Regions from separate parts of the Homo sapiens genome. Here all the other regions are linked to region 2. The links are contacts of gene promoters, found by promoter capture Hi-C in blood cells and fetal thymus (Javierre and others, 2016). All regions are on one chromosome and are shown on one strand. Each heading gives the region's core, a stretch centred on a gene start or on the middle of the fragment in contact. The rest is flanking DNA. Distances are from core to core; before and after follow the strand shown. Region 1 overlaps NME7 (NME/NM23 family member 7). Region 2 holds the start of LINC00970 (long intergenic non-protein coding RNA 970). Region 3 has its middle 22 kb from the start of DPT.

Region 1 (3,898 bases), core at 1,119-3,618, 260 kb before region 2:
TTCTGTGTATAAATACCCAGTTTTTCCAGTACCATTTATTGAAGAGGCTGTCTTCTCCAATATATGTTCTTGGAAACTTTGTTGAAAATGAGTTCATTGTAGATGTATGGATTTGTTTCAGGGTTCTCTATTCTGTTCCATTGATCTATGTGTCTGTTTTTATGCCAGTACCACGCTGTTTTGGTTACTATAGCTCTGTAGTATAATTTGAAGTCAGATAGTGTGATTTTTTTCAGTTTTCATCTTTTTACTTAGGATGGTTTTGGCTATTCTGAGTCTTTTATAAATTTTAGGATTGTTTTTTCTATTTCTACTCTTTGAAGAATATCATTGATATTTTGATAGTGATTGCATTGAATCTGTAGATTGCTTTAGGTAGTATGGACATTTTAACAATATTGATTCTTTCCATAAACATGGAATCTTTCAATTTTTTAGTGGCTTTTTCAATTTCTTTTATCTGTGTTTTAAAGTTTTCATTGTATAAATCTTTCACTTCTTTTGTTAATTCCTATGTATTTTATTTTGTTCATGACTATTGTAAATAGGATAACTTAAAAAATTTTTTTTCAGATTGTTCACTGTTGGCATATAGAAATGCTACTGATATTTGTATGATTTTGTATCCTGCAACTTTACTGGATTTATCAGTTCTAAGAGTCTTTTGGTGGAGTCTTTAGGTTTTTCCAAAGGTAAGCTCATATCATCTGCAAACAAAGATTCTTTGACTTCTTCCTTTCCAATTTGGATGCCCTTTCTCTCATCTGATTGCCATAGCTAGGACCTCCTATGTTGAATAACAGTGGTGAAAGTGTATAACCTTGTCATGTTCCAGATCTGAGAGGAAATGCTTTCAGTTTTTCCCCTTTCATTGTGATACTAGCTGTGGGGCTGTCATATATGGCTTTTATTATGTTGAAGTATATGTTCCTTCTATATCCAATTTTTTGATGTTTTTAACAAGAAGGGATGTTGAATTTTATCAAATGCTTTTTCGGCATCAATGGAAATGATTGTATGGTTTCTGTTCTACATTCTGTTGATATGATGTATCACATTGATTGATTTGCATGTGTTGTACCATCCCTGCATCTCAGGGATAAATCCCACTTGGTCATGATGAATGATATTTTTAACGTGTTACTGAATTCAGTTTTCTAGCATTTTTGAAGATTTCTGCATCAATATTAGAGATATTGTTCTGTAGTTTTCTTTTTCATTCTTTTTTTTTTGATGTGTTGTTGTCTGGTTTTGGTATCAGGGTAATACTGAGCTCATAGAATGAGCTTGGAAATATTACCTCTTCCTCTATTTTTTGGAATAGTTTGAATAGGATTGGTATTAGTTCTTTATATGTTTGGTAGAATTCAGCAGTGAAGCCATCAGGTCCTGGGCTTTTCTTTACTCAGAGACTTTTTATTATGGCTTTGATCTTGTTACTCATTATTGGTGTTTTCATGTTTTGGATTTCTTCCCAGTTCAATCTTGGTAGGTTTTATGTGTGTAGGAAGTTTTTGATTTTTTACAGATTTTTAAATTTATTGGCATATAGTTGCTCATAGTAGCCATCAATGATCTTTTGAATTTCTGCAGTATCATTTGTAATGTTTCCTTTTTCATCTCTGATTTTATTTGTTTGGGCCTTCTGTCTATTTTTCTTACTCTGACTAAAGGATTATCAATTGTGTTTATCTTTTCAAGGAACCAACTTTTTGTTTCATTGATCTTTTGTATTTTTTTTTCATTTCAAATTCATTTATTTCTGCCATGATCTTATTATTTCTTTTCCTCTAATTTTGGTTTCAGTTTGCTCCAGGTTTTGTAATTTTCTAAGGTTCATCATTAGGCTATTTATTTGAAGTTTTTCTCTCTTTTTTTTTAATGTAGGCACTTAGAGCTATAAATTTCCCTCTTAATACTGCTTTCACTGAATTCCCTAGCTAGTAGCATTCCATAACTAATAGTATATTGTGTTTCCTTTATCGTTTGTATCAAGAAAATTTGCAATTTTCTTTTTAATTTCTTCATTGACCCACTGGTCATTCAAGTCATAAAGTCTTAGATCTGAAAGAGACCTTTGATTTTGGTTAACATCAGTGATTATGAAATTGAGGTTATGATGTATCACTGGATTGTAGGCGCTAAATTGTAAGTAATAGACAGCTTTTAAAAAAAGGTATAAAAATATCAGTACATTTCACATATTGAGAATAAGAATTGTTTTTGAGAATTTTATTCCAGTTGTAGGGCATGTGTGTGTGTGGTTGTGGGTGGATGTGGGTGTGGGTGTGTATTGGTCCCAATGGAAACTGTGGTTCTTACTATAGGTTAAGAAATAGGGGAAAAAGAAAAAAGAAAAAAAAGAAAGAAAAAAGGAAACAGGAAAATGTTTTTGAACTATTGATCTAGTCTTATTCCCAAATTTTATAGCTAAAGAAACTAGTTGGGACATACTGAAAGGCCCACATGTCTTCTACCTCAGTGTGATGATCCCATTTACATGTGATGTGCATGTCTGTATGTGTATATGACTATTCCACATTGAAGTAATTCTAATTTCCAAACGAAGGAAAGAAATTACAAAGTTTATTTAGTTAATACCATATCAGTAAGTGCTCACATCACTTCTCTATTTTTAATCTCTTTTATGTTTGCCTTATTTTTCTTTTTTTCCCTCTTTTCTTGAATATCCTTCTATTTCTCTAGGAAAGAAAGATATACAACGTGAAGCTAGAGAGAGGGAGAGAAAGAAATCCAGGACCAATAAAGAGGGAGAGGGACAGACATCCAAAATCTAGGAGACAAAAGAGAGAAACATCCAGGGCCAAGCAGAAGTAGAGGCATCTCTGCCCCATCACTCCTGCTTTCTTCAAGATCCCCTCTGCGTTTTGCACAGGCTGTAGTCTTCTGGGAAGGCAGTGCTGGTGGAGAATGGATCCATCTACTTTCAAAGACATGCATTGGGAATTTATTAATACCTCTCTATCCTGCTGTCTGGCTCTCTGAGTTGGGACTCAGTAATGTACTAAGGAGAGTGAGCTCCTTGAGAGCAGGGCTCTTTCCTTCCTTCCTTCCTTCCTTCCTTCCTTCCTTCCTTCCTTCTTTCTTTCTTTCTTTCTTTCTTTTCTCCCTTTCTTTCCTTTCTTTCCTTCCTTTCCTTCCTTTCCTTCCTTTCTTTCTTCTTTCTTTCTTTCTTGGCACGATCTTGGGTCACTGCAACCTCCACCTTCCAGGTTCAAGTGATTCTCCTGCCTCAGCCTCCTGAGTAGCTGGGATTACAGGCACCCACCACCACACTCCGCTATGTTTTTGTAGTTTTAGTAGAGGCAGGGTGTCACTATGTTGGCCAGGCTGGTCTCGAACTCCTGTCCTCAGGCAATCCATCTGCCTCGGCCTCCCAAAGTGCTGGGATTACAGGCATGAGACACCATGGAGGTAGGGCTTATTTCTTACTCACTCTTGTAGTCCCTCAGTAATAGCTTGCTTAGAAAACTATTCTAATTAATACACTGAGCTTTTGAGATACTGTTCCTTTTATACAGTTACATTCTTACTAATACAAATGAGAAATCTATAGCCTTAAAGAAAGGATTAGGCTAAAAAGGGACTTAATTTTGGAAAATTTGTAAGGAGCTTGATAAAATGAATCCAGGGTTTTAAAAAAAGAGGTTCTGTTACACACACAACACACACACACTAAATAGACATACATTGTGGATTAAACCTTTTTTAAAAATGTCATGAGAAAGATATTCTTGAAATGATTTAATAGCATTTTTTAAATTATTGTTTTTAATTGTTTAAGATACTGTTATGTAATTTGTTAGATGTTAGAAAGCAAGCGAAAGGAATTTATTAGATGTTAGAAAGCAATGGAAGAGAATTCACTGAATGTCAC
Region 2 (4,167 bases), core at 1,220-3,719:
GACGGTGTTTTGCCATGTTGGCCAGGCTGGTCTCAAACTCCTGGCCTCAAGAGATCCGCCCACCTTGGCCTTCCAAAGTGCTGGCATTACAGGCATGAGCCATTGTGCCCGGCCCATTTCAGTTTCTGCTACAGCACTAAACTTACGTTTCTTAAAGGTAGGCCTTATGTCTTCATCAAGGAATCCTAAATTGTTAGACCTGAAAGGAACGTGAGAGATCATATTATGGCTGATGATATCTTTTTCTGTTTCCCTCACATGACCTGGCACCATACCTTGTATACAGTAGGGGGTTTAATAAATAGCAATTGTGTAAGTAGATAAATGCTTTGTACGCTTTGTAATTTGACCTCTCCCCCATATCGTCTATGAACAATGATACAGGAACAATTTGAATCTCTGAACACAATTATTATGTGTTTTATGCAATCATAACCACTCCTATAGGAGTTTGCTTGTTTTTGTAAGTGTTTTCCTCCTGAAATGACCTTTACTATCAGTTAGGTTTAGCTTAGAATATGAATTCCATGTATTCAAGTATTTTGTAGAAAAAATACCTCTGTCCTCTGTGATCATATTAGAGCTACCTGATGACAAAAACAGCATTTGGGTAACACCATGAAACTGCATCACTCACTGTACTTACTTCATCAGTATATCGTCTGTACCAAGCCTGGAAACCAGTTTACCTCTGCCCTGGCTTTAGGGCTGACTTCATCGGTGTGCAATCTATGCAGTTACACGGCGTCCTTAGCTTAGTGGAACCCCCTGCTTGGATTAATGCTCAGTTGTCACCTTTTTGAAATTCTTAATAAATTTTCTGGCAAGTGCCCTGCATTTTCATTTTGCACTGGACTCTGCAAATTATGTAGCAGGTCCCGACTCCCTGTCTGTGTTTGAGCATTTTCTCTCTCCCTTTCACATCCTCCAATCCGGCTTTCCAAAGGCAGAGACATCACATACACTCATCTTAGTGGGACCTGAAACATCTGCCAGGCCTTTAGAATAAACTAGTAAGTGAAGTATTCAAAATAAATGGATATTCATACATACTGGCAAACTAATGGAATGGAATGATCATGCATAAATCATTGACTGGTGCCAGCCACTGAGCTATGGGTTTATATACTAATTTTGTTTAACTGCCACCTCAAACCTGTGAGAGAGTGCTATTATTCTGATTTTACAAATGGGAGAAGGGAGGCTCAGGAAGGTCAGTAAGTGGCAGAGCTCACACACTGAGTTCTGATGTGTCTGAGTCCAAAGCCCATTCCCATTTCACTGCATTCCTAACTGAGGCCTGGAAAACTTACCCCTGAGATCACAGCATTGCCTGAGAGGAAAAAGGACTTTTCCTATGGTTTTCACACTTTCACTTTTTGCACTGGATCTTTCAGTTGTCTGGTTAACAACTAGGTTACGTCATTCTATATGGGGCTTTCAGATACAGAGCAACTTTCCCAGGACCACCCATTAAACTAGAAGTGAAGTGATATCGTTGTTCTCACTATGATGGTAGGGTGAAGGAAGCAGATTGGCCATGCCAAAACTGATGTCCTCTGAGATCCCGAGGCCCAAGCCAACATTTGACGGCATACCTCACTCAACAACACTTTTACCTGTGTAATAGAAAACAACAGCCATTTATAACTCGCTTATTCATTTTTTTTTTCCACAGGCCTCTGCGCAGCATCTGCTATGTGCAGGCACTGTGCTAGGCCCTGTGGAGACAATAATGAAAAAGATATAGCCCCTGCTTTTCAGATGGTCACAAATTGGCAGAAGGGTGCAAACTCATAACTCTCTTTATTCCAACATTTTGCCAGCTCTGGTTGTAAAGTTGAGGAGTTAGGAGTTGGAGTAAATTTAGGAAATGGGTAGAATATTATTTTTGCAGCTCATTGGAATTCTCCCTTGTTACAGATCAGGGTCCTGGGTTGGGTGGCATACCTATGCCTGTCATTATTTGCATCCCTGGTTTAACAGCTGGCTCTGGCCAATCTTATACGATCCTCTACCTTAGCAAACAGAAACACAGTTTTTGAAAATTCACATGAAGAAGAGTTGAATAGCAAATAAGTTCAGCCTTGAGGCTCCACCTATTACCTGGCTGTTGAGCTTTGTAAAACCATTGATTGTTTAACAGCCAGCAGGGCAAGAAGGCCAGAATTATGCTCAGCAAATGCAGAAACAGAGCACAGTTGTCTGTGTGTGTTTCCATGGTAACAGTGATAACAGCTTATATTTATAGACTCTCTATCTCCAAGGAGCTCAAAGCACTTTACAAACACATCATCTCTCTTCTATAGGAAAAAGAGAGAAGGAGAGAGAGGGGGATAGGAAGAGAGGTAGAGAGAGAGAAAGAAAGGGAGAGAGGGAGGGAGGAGGAAGGGAGAGAGGGAAGCAGGGAGGGAGAGAGAACAGGAGAAGAAGGAGGAGGTACAGAAGGACTTGGTGTGCTATTATGCACATTTCACAGATGGCACAGAGTGGGGAAGTCAGTGACCCAAGGTGGCAAGGTAAGCCAGTGACAGATGGTAGATTGGATGGACCTAGTGGCTCATATAACTCCTGGAACTTTTGCTGCTGGCCTTGAGCAGATGTCAGGGCTGAGCTGCTGTCTCCTAGTCATCTTGCTCTGTTCAGTGTCATCTAGGTGATCAGATAACTCCGGGGACATCAAAAGCAGTTTGGCTCAGTATTGTTGGTGGGAAACACAGGGAAAATTCTTCCATGGGGAGTTGGGGATAATGTCCAAAGTCCTTATAGCCAGACAGCCACCAGGCAATCCCAGACTGTGTTCCGAGGGATGACAGGCTCAGCTGTGCTGCACACTCATACTGAGGCTCTGCGCACATTGATGGAAATGGTTTTCTTCAAATAGAGCCCATTTCACAGTTTCTGAAGGACCTTTGGAGGAAATGCCTTTTGGGTACTTCTTTCTGAGACAACTATTAGACATGTGATGTGACTTGGAGTTATCTGAAGGCTGTAGCCTATGAAATTGAAAATGAGTTTTGTAAATCTCAGATCTACTATTTTCTGTATAAAATTCTTGTATGAATAGAGCCATGTCCTCTGGTGGAGGCCTGAACTCTTGGAGTGGGTTAGCATGAATCTCAAGCTCTTGAGTCCTGGAGCAGCCTGTCCCCATTCTTCTTTAGCCAGAGTTGGCCTTGGTCCCCACTTCTTACCCTCACAGGCCTTCTGTTTTCCCCCTCACTGCCACCTCACTCCACATTTAGCCTTTGGAAAATAGCAACTATTTTCTCTTCTAAAAAAGAGTCATTTTCTGCAGAGCATTCAGTCAATCCAGCCAGCAGTCCCCATGGCAACACTGAGATAAGATCCTTCCTCCCGCAGGTCTTCAGTGGTCTTGATAAACAGATCCCACCGGTTCCTGCAGCCCATGACCTCAGGCTGAAGCCAAAGATGAGCTTCTTGCCTGTTTAGGCTTCAGGGATGCTGGACTGAAGGGCTGATAGTTTGAGTAGCTGAGTCCCAGCAAAGTTTAAATGCTTTACAAATAGGCTTCTGACCCCCAAAGCAAAAATAAATTAAGCAAAGAACTTCCTGAAGGAGGAGGAGCAGTTGTTGGAGGGCCTTCTGGTTTCTGCACCATCTTAGTAGTTGACCTACATCCACCAGCGCCTGGAGGCTCACCCACCCAGGGGGAGTGAGTGGGCTCTTCCTCTGACCCTCTCAGGGTGGGCTGCACTCAGACTGAAGTTCTTTCTCTTCCTTCAAGATGCCAAGCTCCCTCTTACCTCCTGGCCTTGAGCTCCAAGCAGGAAGGAGCCCCAACCCCTGGTTTTGTGCCTGGTGCATACTCAGAATTTGTAAAGGAATGAACTCCTTTTGGCTGTTCCCTCCCTCCCTTAATCTTCACACCTTTTTCTTGGCCTTCCCAGTCCTCCTCCTTAAGGTCCCTCTTAGACACTCTGAAATTCCATCTCTCCCACTTCTTCCTATATAGTATTTTATCTTTCCCTCATTACAGCACTTATCACACACTATGGCAATTGCTTATTTTGATAGGAGTTTCTGGATGTCACTGAAACTGGCTTTTGGAGGTTTGTTGGAAACAGCATTTAAAGGTTTACTTCTGAATTAAAAATTAATATTCTGATTATTAAAGTTAGGATTAAAAACATAGTTTATTTGGGT
Region 3 (4,210 bases), core at 1,397-3,896, 340 kb after region 2:
CAGAGCGAGACTCCGTCTCAAAAAAAAAAAAAAAAAAAACTTTATAGCACTATATGGATTAAAAGTCGGAAGATATCAGATCTTTCATTTTTAACTTGATATCTCTGGAATATTGAATTTTAAATTGTTATATTTGAAGGAAAAGCAGTGCCCTTGTGTTTTACATCCTCTTGGTATTCATTCTTAGTATTCAAACTATCCAAAACACTATGCAACAATCCTTTAGAACACGGACCTGCAGTCCGTGGATAAATTCAAGGTGTCCATAAAGTTTCTGAAAAGAAATGTTGAAAGTCAAATGTATGTACTTTCTTCTGGAAAGAAGGTTCACAGTTTTCATCAGATTCTCCAAGTTATCTATGATCTCCAAAATGTTAAGCCCAATTGTCTTGGAGATGAGCTAACCAGTCATCTCATTGTACCAATTGGGAAACTGCCCACCTGCTCCCAAACTTATATGGCTAAGCAACTTGCCTGACATCCTCCATGAGCGCAGCAGATCCTGGGCATGAACAGAAATCTGTGGACTTCCAGGAACATAAGAATTAGAACCATTCCCACCAACACCAATATCCCCTGGACCTTTCAGGCAAACAATAGATACTAAATTTAGTTTTTGAAAATATTCTTGGCTCGGCATGGTAGTTCACGCCTGTAATCCCAGCACTTTGGGAGACCAAGGCAGGTGGATCATGAAGTCAGGGGTTCAAGACCAGCCTGGTCAAGATGGTGAAACCCCATCTCTACTAAAAACACAAAAATTAGCCAGGTGTGGTGGTGGGCACCTATAATCCCAGCTACTCGGGAGATTGAGGCAGAGAATTGCTTGAACCCGAGAGGCAGAGTTTGCAGTGAGCCGAGATAGCGTCACTGCACTCCAGCCTGTGTGAGAGCAAGACTCTTGGAAAAAAAAATCTTTTCACTTTAACTTATAAATTACCCTTTAACATTGAGGAGGAGCTGGGATTGTATCAGTGAGACACTGTATTTCTTAGGTTTGCCATCACCCAATTTGGCACTGATTTAGGACAGGGGCTGCATATGTGTTTGAATAAACACTCCCTCCCTCGTTGTCTGCCATACTTCATCCTGCATACAAACTTGATGCCTATAGCAAGGGTTTGGTCTCCTTTGATTAAGCCCTGGAGTTGAGGGCGGGGGGTGTTATCCGCTTTTGTTTCATGGAAAAGTACTCCCATATCTAGCCCCGATTCCTGAAAACTCATACCACAGTTCTCTTCCCAGGACTTTCAGATGTGAGGGGTTTGCACAACAGCGTCTTGGACAATAACAGAGAAGATAAAATTTCACAGATAAGGAGGAAGTGGTGTGCGTGGAAACTTGCAGTGGTTTAATTTCCATGCCCTTCTCCCCACACCCAGTCTCTCAGTGGGATGCTTGTCTGCACGTATAACTATGAATTATAGAGCTCCCATAAAAATGTGAGTCATCACCCAGTTAATATTTACATACACAACGTGTAAACTCCTTTGTCTTTAGCTGGGTGACAGTAAATAATGTTGAATCTGAAAGGTAAAAATCATCTGTCAGCAGCTGAGTGATCTTGATTCCTTTTTGTGGAAAACTTGGGAAAAATTGCCCAATTCATCCGTACATCAATGCTTCTCAAGCAACTTGCTTAATATTCATAACTCTAGTAATTGATTCACACTTTTCTTTCTGACACATAAATATTTTTCTCAATTATTTCCATCTCTTTTTCTCACTTGCAATCAATTTCCTGACCATCCATGTTAGAGTGACTGTTAAACATGGTTTACTTCTTGCTAGTTTTACTGTTGTTTAGGGGACATGATAACTGTCTTCCTAGTTATCATCTTAGTAGAAAAGCTTTCTGTTTTAATTTGTCATTTCAGTTCAGTTCAACAATGTCTTCTGAGCCTTTACTATGTAACCCCCACTGATTGTGAGGACCTCATCACTGAAACAGTCTTTGTCCTTAAGGAGCACATGAGCTTGTATAGATGTTTTATATATGCTACTAATTTTTACACATGGCAATATGACAATTTCATGTTGAAAAGAAATGCACTACAGACAGTGTGTTATGGCAGCACAGGGAGCAATTACAGAAAAACCTTCAGACAGGAGGATGCTACTGAGTTGAGCTCTTATTGCCTAGCAGAGTTAATAGGCATCCTTTATTGACTGCTTGCTACCAAGCATTGTGCTCAGTCTTTCACATGCATTTTCTTATGTTATACAAGAATCCTGTGAGGCAGACAATGTTATTATCCCTACTTTACAGTTGGGCGAACACAGGCTTTGAGTTCAAATAACTTTAACTGCCAAAGGATTTCTTGCTGACTCCGCAGTCTCTCCCCTCGCCACTCCACCACACACCTACTCATTTGAGTAGATTTTTTAAACAGACAGAAGATGGAAAGCATTCCAGGCTGCACTTCTATGTTTACTGAATGAGGAGGGAATGTGGAGTCTGGTGGCAGGATTGTGGCAGGCTAGAAAAATAGCCTTGGAATGATTCTCAACTACCAAGAGGTTACTATGTGCCAAGCAGTGCCTGAGTACTTCACAGACATGATTATCATTTAATCCTTATAATAATCTTGAGAACTGGATATTATTATCTCAATTTTTACAATTGTGGAGACTCAGAGTTTAACTGTACTTGCTTGAGACATCAAAGAATATTGAAGAGCAGGGATTTGATCTGTAGTCTGGCTAGGATCTTTAGGACCTCTCTAATCCATTACAGGGAAAGGAGCTTTCACAACCCTGATCAAGAACTTCCTGTCTTTAATTATTACTATACCTTCACTTCCTTTCTTTCTTAAGCCCAGGACCAGAAAGCAAATTAAAAATTCAATGCATTTCCCATCAAAATACCAAAATACCATCATTCTTCACAGAACTTGAAAAAACAATCCTAAAATTCATATAGAACCAAAAAAGTACCTTCATAGCTGAAGCAACACTAACCAAAAAGAGCAAATCTAGAGGCATCACATTACCCAACTTCAAACTATACTAGCAAAGACTATAGTCACCAAAACAGCATGGTACTGGTATAAAAACAGGCACACAGAATAATGGAACAAAATAGAGAACCAGCAATAAAGCCAAATACTTACACCCAACTAGTATTTGACAAAGCAAACAAAAACGTAAAGTGGGGAAAGGACACCCTATTCAACAACTGGTGCTGGGATAATTGGCAAGCCATATGTAGAGGAATGAAACTGGAGTCTCATGTCTCATCTTATAAAAATATCAACTCAAGGTGGATCAAAGACTTACATCTAAGACCTGAAACCATAAAAATTCTAGAAGATAACAGTGGAAAAACCTTCTAGACAGTGACTTAGGCAAAAACTTCATGACTAAGAACCCAAAAGCAAATGCAACAAAAACAAAAATAAATAAATGGGACCTAATTAAGGAAATTAAAGAAAAAGCTTCTGTGCAGCAAAAGAAATAATCAGGAGAGTACACAGACAACCCACAGAATGGGAGAAAAATTTTGCAATCTATGCATCTGACAGAGGACTAATATCCAGAATCTAAAAAGAACTCAAACAAATCAGCAAGAAAAAAATACTAATCCATGTCCCCTAAGGACATGAATAGATAATCCTCAAAAGAGGATATATAAATGGCCAAGAAACATGAAAAACATGCTCAACATCACTAATGATCAGGGAAATGCAAGTGAAAACCACAATGCAATACCACCTTACTCCTGCAAGAATGGACATAATAAAAAAAAATTTAAAAAAAATAGCTGTTGGCATGAGTATGGTGACAAAGGAACACTTTTACACTGCTGGTGGGCATGTAAACTAGTACAACCACTATGGAAAACAGTGTGAAGATTCCTTAAAGAACTAAAAATAGAGCTACCATTTGATCCAGCAATCCCACTACTGGGTATCACCCAGAGGAAAATAATTCATTACATGAAAAAGACACTTGCACACATGTAGTTACAGCAGCACAATTTGCATTTGCAAAAAGTATGGAACCAGCCCAAATGCCCATCAGTCAATGAGTGGATAAAGAAAATGTGATATATATATATATATATATATATATATATATATATATATATATATACATACACACACACACACACATACACATATATATACACACATATATATACACACATATATACACACATATATACATACACATATATATACACACACACATATATACACACACACAC

What was found. The method cuts DNA at HindIII sites, captures the fragments that hold promoters and counts their contacts. A CHiCAGO score of 5 or more calls a contact.
Region 1: a fragment that was not itself captured here is called in contact with the fragment with the promoter of LINC00970 in region 2 in 1 of 17 cell types (erythroblasts); the score reaches 5.5 in erythroblasts.
Region 3: a contact is called between a fragment that was not itself captured here and the fragment with the promoter of LINC00970 in region 2, in 1 of 17 cell types (M2 macrophages). The highest score is 7.8, in M2 macrophages.

Annotation. Positions count from the first base shown.
Region 1 is chr1:169,349,450-169,353,347 of GRCh38, reverse strand. The region is part of intron 1 of NME7 (NME/NM23 family member 7); the gene reads left to right. Among named protein-coding and RNA genes, the nearest start is that of NME7, 16 kb to the left of the region's middle. The HindIII fragment of the contact is 5,177 bases long and covers 1-3,898 here.
Region 2 is chr1:169,085,307-169,089,473 of GRCh38, reverse strand. It overlaps LINC00970 (long intergenic non-protein coding RNA 970), which reads left to right and starts at 2,469. Exons shown (of 5, transcript NR_104091.1): 1 at 2,469-2,519. The HindIII fragment of the contact is 14,978 bases long and covers 1-4,167 here.
Region 3 is chr1:168,749,506-168,753,715 of GRCh38, reverse strand. No RefSeq gene overlaps it. Among named protein-coding and RNA genes, the nearest start is that of DPT, 22 kb to the right of the region's middle. The HindIII fragment of the contact is 1,586 bases long and covers 1,854-3,439 here.